Linked DNA regions of Homo sapiens: regions 1 and 2 are each linked to region 3. The links are contacts of gene promoters, found by promoter capture Hi-C in human tissues and cell types (Jung and others, 2019). All regions are on one chromosome and are shown on one strand. The core of a region is centred on a gene start or on the middle of the fragment in contact, and the rest is flanking DNA. Distances in the headings are between cores, read along the strand shown.

The links. The method cuts DNA at HindIII sites, captures the fragments that hold promoters and counts their contacts. A contact is called where the count stands out against the background at its distance.
Region 1: a contact is called between a fragment that was not itself captured here and the fragment with the promoter of AQP4 in region 3, in 1 of the 25 tissues and cell types used here (dorsolateral prefrontal cortex).
Region 2: a contact is called between a fragment that was not itself captured here and the fragment with the promoter of AQP4 in region 3, in 2 of the 25 tissues and cell types used here (adrenal gland and psoas muscle).

The regions. Positions count from the first base shown.
Region 1 is chr18:26,803,888-26,807,027 of GRCh38, reverse strand. No RefSeq gene overlaps it. Among named protein-coding and RNA genes, the nearest start is that of AQP4-AS1, 60 kb to the left of the region's middle. The HindIII fragment of the contact is 4,775 bases long and covers 1-3,140 here.
Region 2 is chr18:26,822,698-26,826,149 of GRCh38, reverse strand. LOC105372035 (a long non-coding RNA gene) reads left to right here and starts at 998. Exons shown (of 3, transcript NR_188008.1): 1 at 998-1,182; 2 at 1,750-2,631. The HindIII fragment of the contact is 3,839 bases long and covers 1-3,452 here.
Region 3 is chr18:26,864,229-26,867,416 of GRCh38, reverse strand. AQP4 (aquaporin 4) reads left to right here and starts at 1,710. Exons shown (of 5, transcript NM_001650.7): 1 at 1,710-1,759. The coding sequence starts at 1,728. It overlaps AQP4-AS1 (AQP4 antisense RNA 1), which reads right to left and starts at 2,109. Exons shown (of 8, transcript NR_026908.1): 1 at 2,057-2,109. The HindIII fragment of the contact is 8,928 bases long and covers 1-3,188 here.

The DNA.
Region 1 (3,140 bases), core at 448-2,947, 60 kb after region 3:
GATGGAACCCCTTTCTGGAAATTCAATTTAACAGATGATTCCACTCTGGGTTTGTACATCAAGGGAGGTCATATGTAAGTACCCAAAGCTTTGAAATTTTTCAACATTTTAGACGTCTACATCCAAATGAGATAGCAAGAATAGTTTACAAGTTTTATCTTCTGAAATCATGAAGGGTTTCTGTTTGCCATAGGAATGTTTTAACTGTAATGCAGCGTTTCAGTAGGGACACACCATTTATGCTGCAAGTGACACACACACACACACTCAAAAACCCTCAACTCGGACTAAATTAATAAAGGATATTTGTTGAATCGTAGCTGAGAAGGCTGGAGGAAGATGCGGTGAGTTTGGATCCAGCAACTGGAAAGATATTGCCCAGGGCTAAGTTCCATCTCTCGCCGTTGGGCTGACTTGCTCCTAAAGCTGCCTCACTCCAGATCTCACATTCTCAGGCTTCTTCAGGCAGAGGAAGGGAGGAGTCTCTTCCTATAGCGTTTGGAAGAAGTGCTACATTTTCCTTACCCAGAAACCCCAGCAAATAGCTCCTCAAGTCTCTATGGTCCTGATTTGTTACAGATCCTTCAATGAGCCAATCACAGGGCCAGAGCAGATGGGATGGTCCTGACATTGGCCAATCAGGGGCCACTCTGGAACCAGGGTAGGTTCAATCTTACCCAATCACACAGGGCTGAGAAGGAAGGAAGGTAGTTTCCCCAAAAGAAACTTGAAGTACTTTTAAGGAGAAAGGGAGATTGATGGCTAAAATATAAATACATTAATGTCTAACTAGACTGCCAAATACAAAGCAAACTCTGAGGGCTTTACTCTTACTTGCCAGTCTTGGCATCAGATCAATCGTAATTTTCATATCAGAACTTTTTTTAAAAACATGTTTATTTCATGGAACTTTCCAGAGTGAGGGGTGAGAGGGTAGAGATAGCAACCTAAAGCTGCCCTCATTATTCTAGCATTCTGGTATACTGGGGCAAAACATCAGAGACCCTGGGCATGAAATCTCAATTACCTCTTTGGAAAAAATAGAAACTAGTGGTCAGTCCCCGGAATACATAGATCAAAATTTTTTAATAATACTAATAGCTGACATTGGTTATGTGCTTGCTATGAGCCAGGCACTATCAGCCCATTACATGCATTAACTCATCTAATCCTCACAGCAACTCTAGGAAGTTGATCCTGTGATTGCCCTTATATTACATATGAGAAAACTGAGGCAGAGAGAAGTTACCTTATCCAAGGCCACACTCCTACGAAGCGGAAAGTCCAATATCTGAACCCAAGCTGTACCGCTAGAGGAAGAATAGGTCATGATTCAAGAGTCCAGGGCTTTATTCTGGAGTATAATTTGCCTGTTGGTGGAAAGGAACATTTCTGGATTTGATCATTGGTGCTGCTACTTAAATCTTCTCCAATCCAGCTTCAGGGGAATGCATTCCAAATTCCTAGAGTCGGAGAACTATAAAATACTAAAAATCCAAGGTCAGCCTCTTGCTGGGAGCCCAGCAAGAGTACCTTTTGCCATAGGAGTGATGGGCTCAACAAAATATTAATAACAGCAGGAGAGGCAGGGCCAGCGTGGGCAGCACAGGTGTCTCTTCTTTGGGTGAGAAATCAGAGTGAATAGTGCCAGGTATAATAAAAAGAAACTGTAATGGCCTCCAAGGAGAAGAGCCTGTGCTGCCAAAAACTGTCAGGAGTAGGATGGGGAATTCAGGGACTTCGCCCTTAGATTCTGCTGGGTGGAGGATCTGAAACCAAAGACTGTTATTGCCACCCTTATGATTGTAAACTGCACTTTGCAATTTGTCCCTCTAGCCGGTGTGACCTGAGAAAGTAAAGGTTACATATTATGGGACATAATTAAAGGAAAAGTATTACATTAGCAGATGCTGAGAGTCCTAGCAATTACCATGATTTCATTTTTTAGCTATTCTTTTCTACTTTTTGCCCAAACATTAGACGACAAGGATGGAATTCTAGAATGGCATTTGTTATAAAACACACCAGCCCATTACACTAATTCTCCTGACCCACTGGAAATGGAGCGAATACAAAAGACAGAGTCTTCAGTCCAAACCCAGTGCAGATTCTGACATGCACATGTGATGAAAATCCTACAGCTGAAAGAACTAAAGCAGCAGGGGCTAGCCAGCTCAGACACCACAGGAGGGCAAAGAGAAGCTGAATGAGCAGTCCATGCAGCTGAAGACCAAATGTTGAAACAGTGTCAAAGGTGCATTAAAATGCCTGCTGCTGGTTTCCATGCACATTGTCTTCTGCAAGCTTAAATGACTGAAAGAAAGATCCAGGAAAGGGACCAGGAATTTCTGCCTTGGTGTCCAGGCTCGCTTCCACCCAGCCTAAGTGACAGCTGGCTGCAGTGTGCCTGCCACCTAATGGTGACACCAGTTGCTTTTTTATTTAAGAGGCTGATTGCACTTTTCAAAAAATCTAAATTTCTTTCCTCACTCTAATTTAAGTGAAATGATAGGAGTATAAATTGCTTTGTTACAGTTCCAAACAGTAGCCCTGCTTGAATTTTTTATGGCTCTAATGAAGATCCTGAGTATCCTTTTAAATATTAAAATTCAGATTAAATATCAACTAGATGTAATGACAGCTTAAAAAACGTTATCAGTACATTGCTATGCTTAATGAATATAAAACACGAAAAAGGCTGGGCTTCATTTACTGTGCTCCTTCCAACCCAGGAATTTCAGCCTAAATTTCCCGACACCTTCATTTTCTCCCTGAGTCCTATGTTTTAGCTGTTAAATGGGGGTGCAGCAAAGAGTTTTAGAACCAAACATTAAAATTAACAACCCTTCTTTAAGAAACACATTTTCTGCACCATCATTTTCTCTGGCCACTTATTTCTTCTTTGCATTTTATGCACACGTCTCATCAAGATGTGTTATTTGAAGGCTGCGCCCCCAAGTATGCTCTCTCTACCCAGATCTTACATCAAAGAGGTGAATTGTTAAGGAATTTACACCACATTTGGAATCAGGGTAAAATTACCAGAGAAAACAAAGGGCTAAAAACCCAATATCACACTTCATCAGGAAAAGTAATGGAAGGTGGGTCTTCCTAAATCATTTGAAAAAAAAAAATACTGT
Region 2 (3,452 bases), core at 538-3,037, 41 kb after region 3:
AAGCTAATCTGTTAATAATACGGTACCTAAAAGTATTCATCTTTTTATTTTGCTCTTCTTCCCAGAAATTTAAGAGGCTAAAGGGAATATTATGTGCTTACGTTTCTCTAACTCAAAGTGCATAATACTGAATAATTCTTCCCAGTGACACTCTGAGAGAGTTACACATGTCTCCTAGTGAAAACCGGTTTGGAGAGCCAGATAGAACTGTACTTAAATCCAATCCCAGCTTTGCCACTTACCAGCTGTGGGAACTTCATCTTTCTAAACCTCATTTCTCTCCTTCACAGAAGAAGGATGATGAAATCACTAAAGCTATTGAGAGAATTAAAGGAAAGCACATATGCACCATCCCTTGTCCATAGCAAGTGCTCAGCGTTTTTATTATAGGTGACAAGTAGATACCTGATAAGTTGTTATAAAACATTTGTTCACCCTAATGGAAAGAAGAGTAAGGCAGCATGATGCAAAACTATAGAGTTTTGTGCTGAAAATGCCTTTTCTAATCATGAGGAGTCACTTCCACTAGAGCCGGAACAGCAGCTTCCGAGGGTCTGCAGACAGGGAAGTCGGTGGCACCCAGAGGGTCATCCCAGTGCGGATGGGGGAGTCTTCTACCCTTCCCAGAGGGTCACCCCAGTGTGGATGGGGGAGTCTTCTACCCTTCCTACAATAACCCCTGGAAATCTCCAAAAACACACAGCATTTCCAGAGTTTTCCCCAAAGTAAGAAATTGAAGAGAAAAAAAAAAACACCCTCTAAGGACAACAACCCACTCTCATTTGTTGGCGCCCTGAGGCATCTGACAACAATAACAACAACAACAAAAAAAAATAGCCATAGCCATCACCCCAGTTTGGAAACATTCTTCAACCACAGACCTGGCTCCAGGTTGCTTCTGAGGTCTCACAAAGTGACGGCTTTCTCTGAGCCCTTTCCTGGTAGTGATTTAGAATTCTGCAAACAATCTAGAATACAGGCCTCAGCCCTCTTCATCACTAACAATTCTGTTTTCACACTTATCCAGCCAAGTTGCGAGAGAAACCCCTGAAGTAGTCTAAAACACATATTCAGTTATCAAAATTTTTGGTCCTCAAGTCACTTTGATTTTACTAAAAGCAATCATTTGAAGGACATCTTGTCAGCTGGAATCCCAAACAAACAGACGAGCGTGAAACAGGAGTAAGTGATTTGAATTCTAACAGTTTTCCCTTGAAATAAGCTTTGTAGTAAAGGTTGTGATGACAAGAAAAGATAAAAGAGAGCAGAGCTGCAAATAGAGTTCAGGATGACTTAAAAATCAAGTATAAACATAAAATGCTAGGAGTTTAGCCAGATGAGCACGCAGGAAAATCTCAGCCCTCCCTTCTTTCATTAAGATTTCTATTTCATATACTCTGAAGGTTGATGTCAAAGGGTGAATAAGCACCGAGGAACCCCTTGGGAAAGGTTCAGAGGGCTCCTGGTCAAGGTTAGCCCTATCATTAGGCAAAAGAGGCAGTAGCCTAGAGCCAAAGAGTATTAGGAGCAATGAAAACGTGTAGTGACTGGATACCCTTTGGCTGACTTCAGGCTTGCAGGCATCACAACATTTTCCAGTGTACCTAGGGCAACAAAAGTCTTCATCTCCACCTCTCAATTCAATCCAGGACATACAGTACTGATTTCCAACATTAAATTACATTGAGGGTTTTTTACTATTGTTGAATATAGCTATTTCCCATTGCTTATAATGCATATCTCTTTTAGGAAAAAAGAACAGAAAAATAAACGTGAAAGAGCTACATAATGTGAGATACCATCTACTCAAAAGTGTTTTAATAAGCAGATTTTGTTGATTTATACATTTCTATTGCGTGAATAGATTCATTGGATCTGTAAAACAACACCGGATTTTAAGGGATTTTAAACTACATTTGCTTAAAGACACGGGGCATTATCCAAGGGCTGCCATTCTGTATGTTGATACAGCTGTTGACCTACCAGAACCTACATACTTGATGATAATAACTCAAAAACTGTCTCTTTACCAGCCTTTAATCAAGTAGGAAAGATTTGTTGGAGCTCTCACTGCCTTCTATAAAACCTGCTGTTTGGTACCCATGGAATACCAAATTCTCACAACTGCTAGGCCACTCGCTAGTGCTGTATATCCATACAATTCTGTCCCAGACCCTGCCTTGTATGCCTAGCAACATGTGAAGATTTCTATTTCTAAATCCAGTCATTCCAGTTGTACTTATTACTGTCATTATGCAGTCTCATTAAATATTATTAAAAGCAATTATTATGGATATGAAGAACAAAAGATCTACTTCCTCTACAAAAACCAAATCAAATGCATTGAAAAGAGACAATAAAGTCAGGTCACCTTAAAAATAAATACTGTCATCTTAAGTTTGACCAAGACAACCATAAAAGATTGAGGAAGGAAATCAGATCATTTAAAAATGGGAAGAATAGTGGTCTTAGATTGCTTTGTAAGTTTCTGTAAGTTCCTCCTTCACCTAAGAAACTGAAGCTTCACATGGCCAATGATGCTGTGTAGGTGTCACTTGTCTGTGAGAGCCAATGAAGAACATTAATCAGAAGAACCAAACTCAAGAACAAGGTCATTTCCTGCTTCACAAGGTTGGTGAATTGGTGTATAATTATGGGTTTCTATTTATTTATTTATTTATTTATTTATTTATTTATTTATTTATTTATTTTGAGATGGAGTCTTGCTCTGTAGCTCAGGCTGGAGTGCAGTGGCACGATCTCGGCTTACTGCCACCTCTGCCTCCCGGGTTCAAGTGATTCTCCTGTCTCAGTCTCCCAAGCAGCTGGGATTACCGGTGCCTGCCACCATGCCTGGCTAATTTTTTTGTATTTTTAGTAGAGATGGGGTTTCAACATGATAGTCAGACTGGTCTCGAACTCCTGACCTCAAGTGATCCACCCGCCTTGGCCTCCCAAAATGTTGGGATTACAGGCATGAGCCACAGCACATAAGATTTGTGTAAGCTATTTTTACGCTTCTGTACGTTAACTGACTTTTTTGATTGGGTGATCCACTAAGGGTTTTATTTTGGTCAAAGAAGAATAATTGCATTTTATTACACATGAAATGATATTTTGGGATGGTACTGAGGTAGTTTCTCCTTTTCTATTGTCAGGGCCATCTTTACTTTGAAAGATACAGAAAGACTGTGTATATCCTTGCTTGTGATCTTCCCAATCAGTAGCATCTGTTTCTAGGTCAGATGGCATACAAGTTCCTCCTCTGCTAAGAGTTACTGCTTTTGTGCCTCCCCAAAAAGATATAATAAAAATAAGATTGAATATGGTCTTTTAATCTTGGAGTCATAAAAGAAATGTTGAGGGGCAGGGGCTCAAATCACTCCCAGATGAGACACCACAACTTGAAAAGTGATAGAGCATATGGCTTTGCATGTGTGAGGCTTCCTCTT
Region 3 (3,188 bases), core at 461-2,960:
CAGCCCTCAAAATACTTCTGACTCAAATGTCTTAGGGTCAGAGTAATGACATTTAGCACATCTGCCTAGAAACTCACAGTTTTCCAATTTGTAACAAACATTTTGCACCTTTTAAAAATCTCATTCTAAAATCCAAATGGTAAACAGCTTTAAGAATCAATATGAAATGTTTTAAGTGTTCTCTGTGGCTTCATATAAATTCTCCCTGCCCCTCTCATCAGAATTTATTCTGACTTTCAGGGAGCATATTAAAGGTAGAAACCACTGATGTACAATAATAAGTGTGCAACCATATTCTTAAGAATCTAAATTCAATCTTGGTTAGCTGAGAATGCTTGAAACAGTAATAAAGTGCTCCTCTGAAAGTCACACTCAAATTTTGAATTCCTCTTTCTAATGAGAGCTCTTCACCCATTCCCATGTCTCAAGTACGCAAATGAAAACAAAACAAAAAAACTGTAACTGGGATTTAAAAGTATAACAGTCTTTCTTCTCTCATGTATTTCTTTCTTGTCATACTTCATTCTGGAAAAAAATAATCCAATCTGAAATATAAAGTGGGAAAAGGGAGGCATCCGTAGGTAATGTGAGTTATTATCATTGTTCTAGATGTTGGGTTGAGTGGTGGGTTCATAGATGTTCATTACATTATTTAAAAGCCATTATAATTAACTATTAGAAAATAAGAGGGCCATACATGCACGAGTGATGACAGAGTGTCATAAATCAGGAATTCTGATTATTCCAATCCCATGCACCTAAGATCTGTTTAAAGAAAAAATAATAATGAGATGGTGATGCAGGTAGCTAATGGTTAGACCCTTCTAGAGTTCACCAAACTCCTTCGGCAGGGACGTCTTCATAAGCATGCAGCCTGCGCAGCTGCACAAGGTCCTGCCTTTAGGAGCACCCAGCCTTTATTTATGCTCTGCTGTCGCAATCTTGAAATTTAAATAGTGTTTTACCAAGGTGTCCTGCATTCATTTTGCACTGGGACCAGTAAATTATAAAATCAGTCCTGTCCCTAAGTTTCCAGAGGTTAAATTTACCTACAGTTCCCCATAATTTCGTCCCCATCCAACTTTGATATTTTTTAAGTTTGCTACTTCTTATCCCCAGATTATTAATGTAACAGTCAGGTGAGCACCCTAGAGCAGTCTTTTTTCCTGTATTTCCTATGTTTCCTTATTTTTATTGTCCAAATCAGTGCTGCCTGTGCTATAAATGGAGCTGCAGTTATATATTGTTCTTATAATGCTTCTTCTCAGATCAAAAACTTCAAACAGAATTCATTGGCTAAAAACTAAATGCACTGAAGTCTCTATCTAAATTCATGTTAACTGCTGGATTATACAAATTCATTTTCTAATAATTGCCCAATTTCAACTACAACATATAACCAAACAAGACAAATTCTGAACAATTCTTCATGGTAGAAAGAATTCAAATAAAGATTTAAGGAAATCCTCATTTTCAAAAATTACTGTCTCAAAAAAAAAAAAATTAAGTAAATGTTTTTGCATTCCTGAAATGCCCTGTGTCTACAGTGATCAGGTACAGAAAAGCTACTTCAAGTTCAAATATAACTTAGCGATTGCCACATGGTGCAGAATCTTTCCACCCCTAACACTCCAAAAACCCAATCAGACAAGTGGCCGTAATCTGACTCCCAGCACACAGGGAGCTGCGGGGCAGGCAATGAGAGCTGCACTCTGGCTGGGGAAGGCATGAGTGACAGACCCACAGCAAGGCGGTGGGGGTAAGTCCTTCTTTGCCTTAAGGGAACAACGCTTAGGGCCAAAAGATGAAACTGTCTCTTTTATTATAGATGTTTGTGCCTTCTTAGGCAGAATCTGGAAGGCAGCTATAGGGCAGGTGGGTGGTTCTTTTAGATCTGAGTACTGGGCATTTTCAGAAGAGAGGCATAGAGAAGGTAGAAGAAAAGGGATGCTTTTTAGCCAAATCCTCCATATGTTTCAGATCTGCAAAAGCCCAGGAAAATTACCCTATGGAGGTGAATCTAGCTATAGTACATTTCTTCGGAAAAATTACTCACCCAGACGCTCAGCTGTCCTGGAGTGGATGAAGCTGAGTGTTCAGCTAGAAAGTAATGTGTCCGATTCAGTACATCAACAAACCCGCTTTGTTCTGGGGCAAAAGAAGCAAATCTAATTGTGTTGATCATTTCCAGTGACTGTGAACATATAAGGGAACACTGACAATAAAAGCAGGGTGCTATGGGTGACGCTAGGGTGAGCCCTCATAAGGCCAGAGATATGTATATGCTGCCAGCAAACTTCACGGTTCACAGCCAAGTGAGGCTGGTCCATCTGCCTTGGAAGAAGATCAGATTTTTGTGGATTTAAAAAAAAAAAAAAGCTAAAAACATTCTTAAAGAGCATGTTTATGTTTTGTGTTGGTGTTTTGCACTGTTTTAAATTTCTCTGGTTGATGAATATTTGAAGCTGAAAGAGCAACTACCTCTGGAGAGGTAAACAGGTGCATGACAGGCCAAGCAGGGAGAGAACTCCGGAAATGGCAGAAGTGAGAGGTGAAGGGGGTGAGCAGCGGGGCTGGCCTTTTCTGGGTCCCACCTCTTCTGGTGTCTCCTGCGGGGCTGAAAAGGACGTTTCCTGCCCACCTAGCTTCCTTAGCCTACTGTTTTGTCCTCCTCCTTCTCCCCTAACCCTGACCACAAACGACAGCACCTATGATCGCATTTTGCCCCCTTTGCCATCCCGGCTACAGCCCTGGGCTGCCGGTGAGTTCAGAAGTGACTCTCCTAACTTCTTCAATATGTGACTTTTCTGAGTTTACCGTCTTTGGGAATATTTTTAGTGTCTCCTCCAGGGTGCCCTCCCTGCCCCATTGCAACCATCGTTTTTGTCTCTTTACATTCTTTTCCTCTAGAGAGTATGATGTCGTTGTCATCCCACCTGGGGTTTTTCATACTTCTGAGATTCGCTTCACTGGGGCAGGGGATGCGTGGGATGTGGCTGGCCACCCCCCTGTGGAGCCAGCTCTTCCTTTATCCTGCCACCCGGGCCTGGGCAAGAAAGGGTTTTTCTCTCTCCACCTCTAAAGCAAAGCCCCATAGCAAACTAAGGGCTAGGCTGAGCTGGAAATTCCCCTCACCCTTTTTGGCACTGCATTTCCTCACTACCCACGCAGAAAGCAGGTTCCCGGGA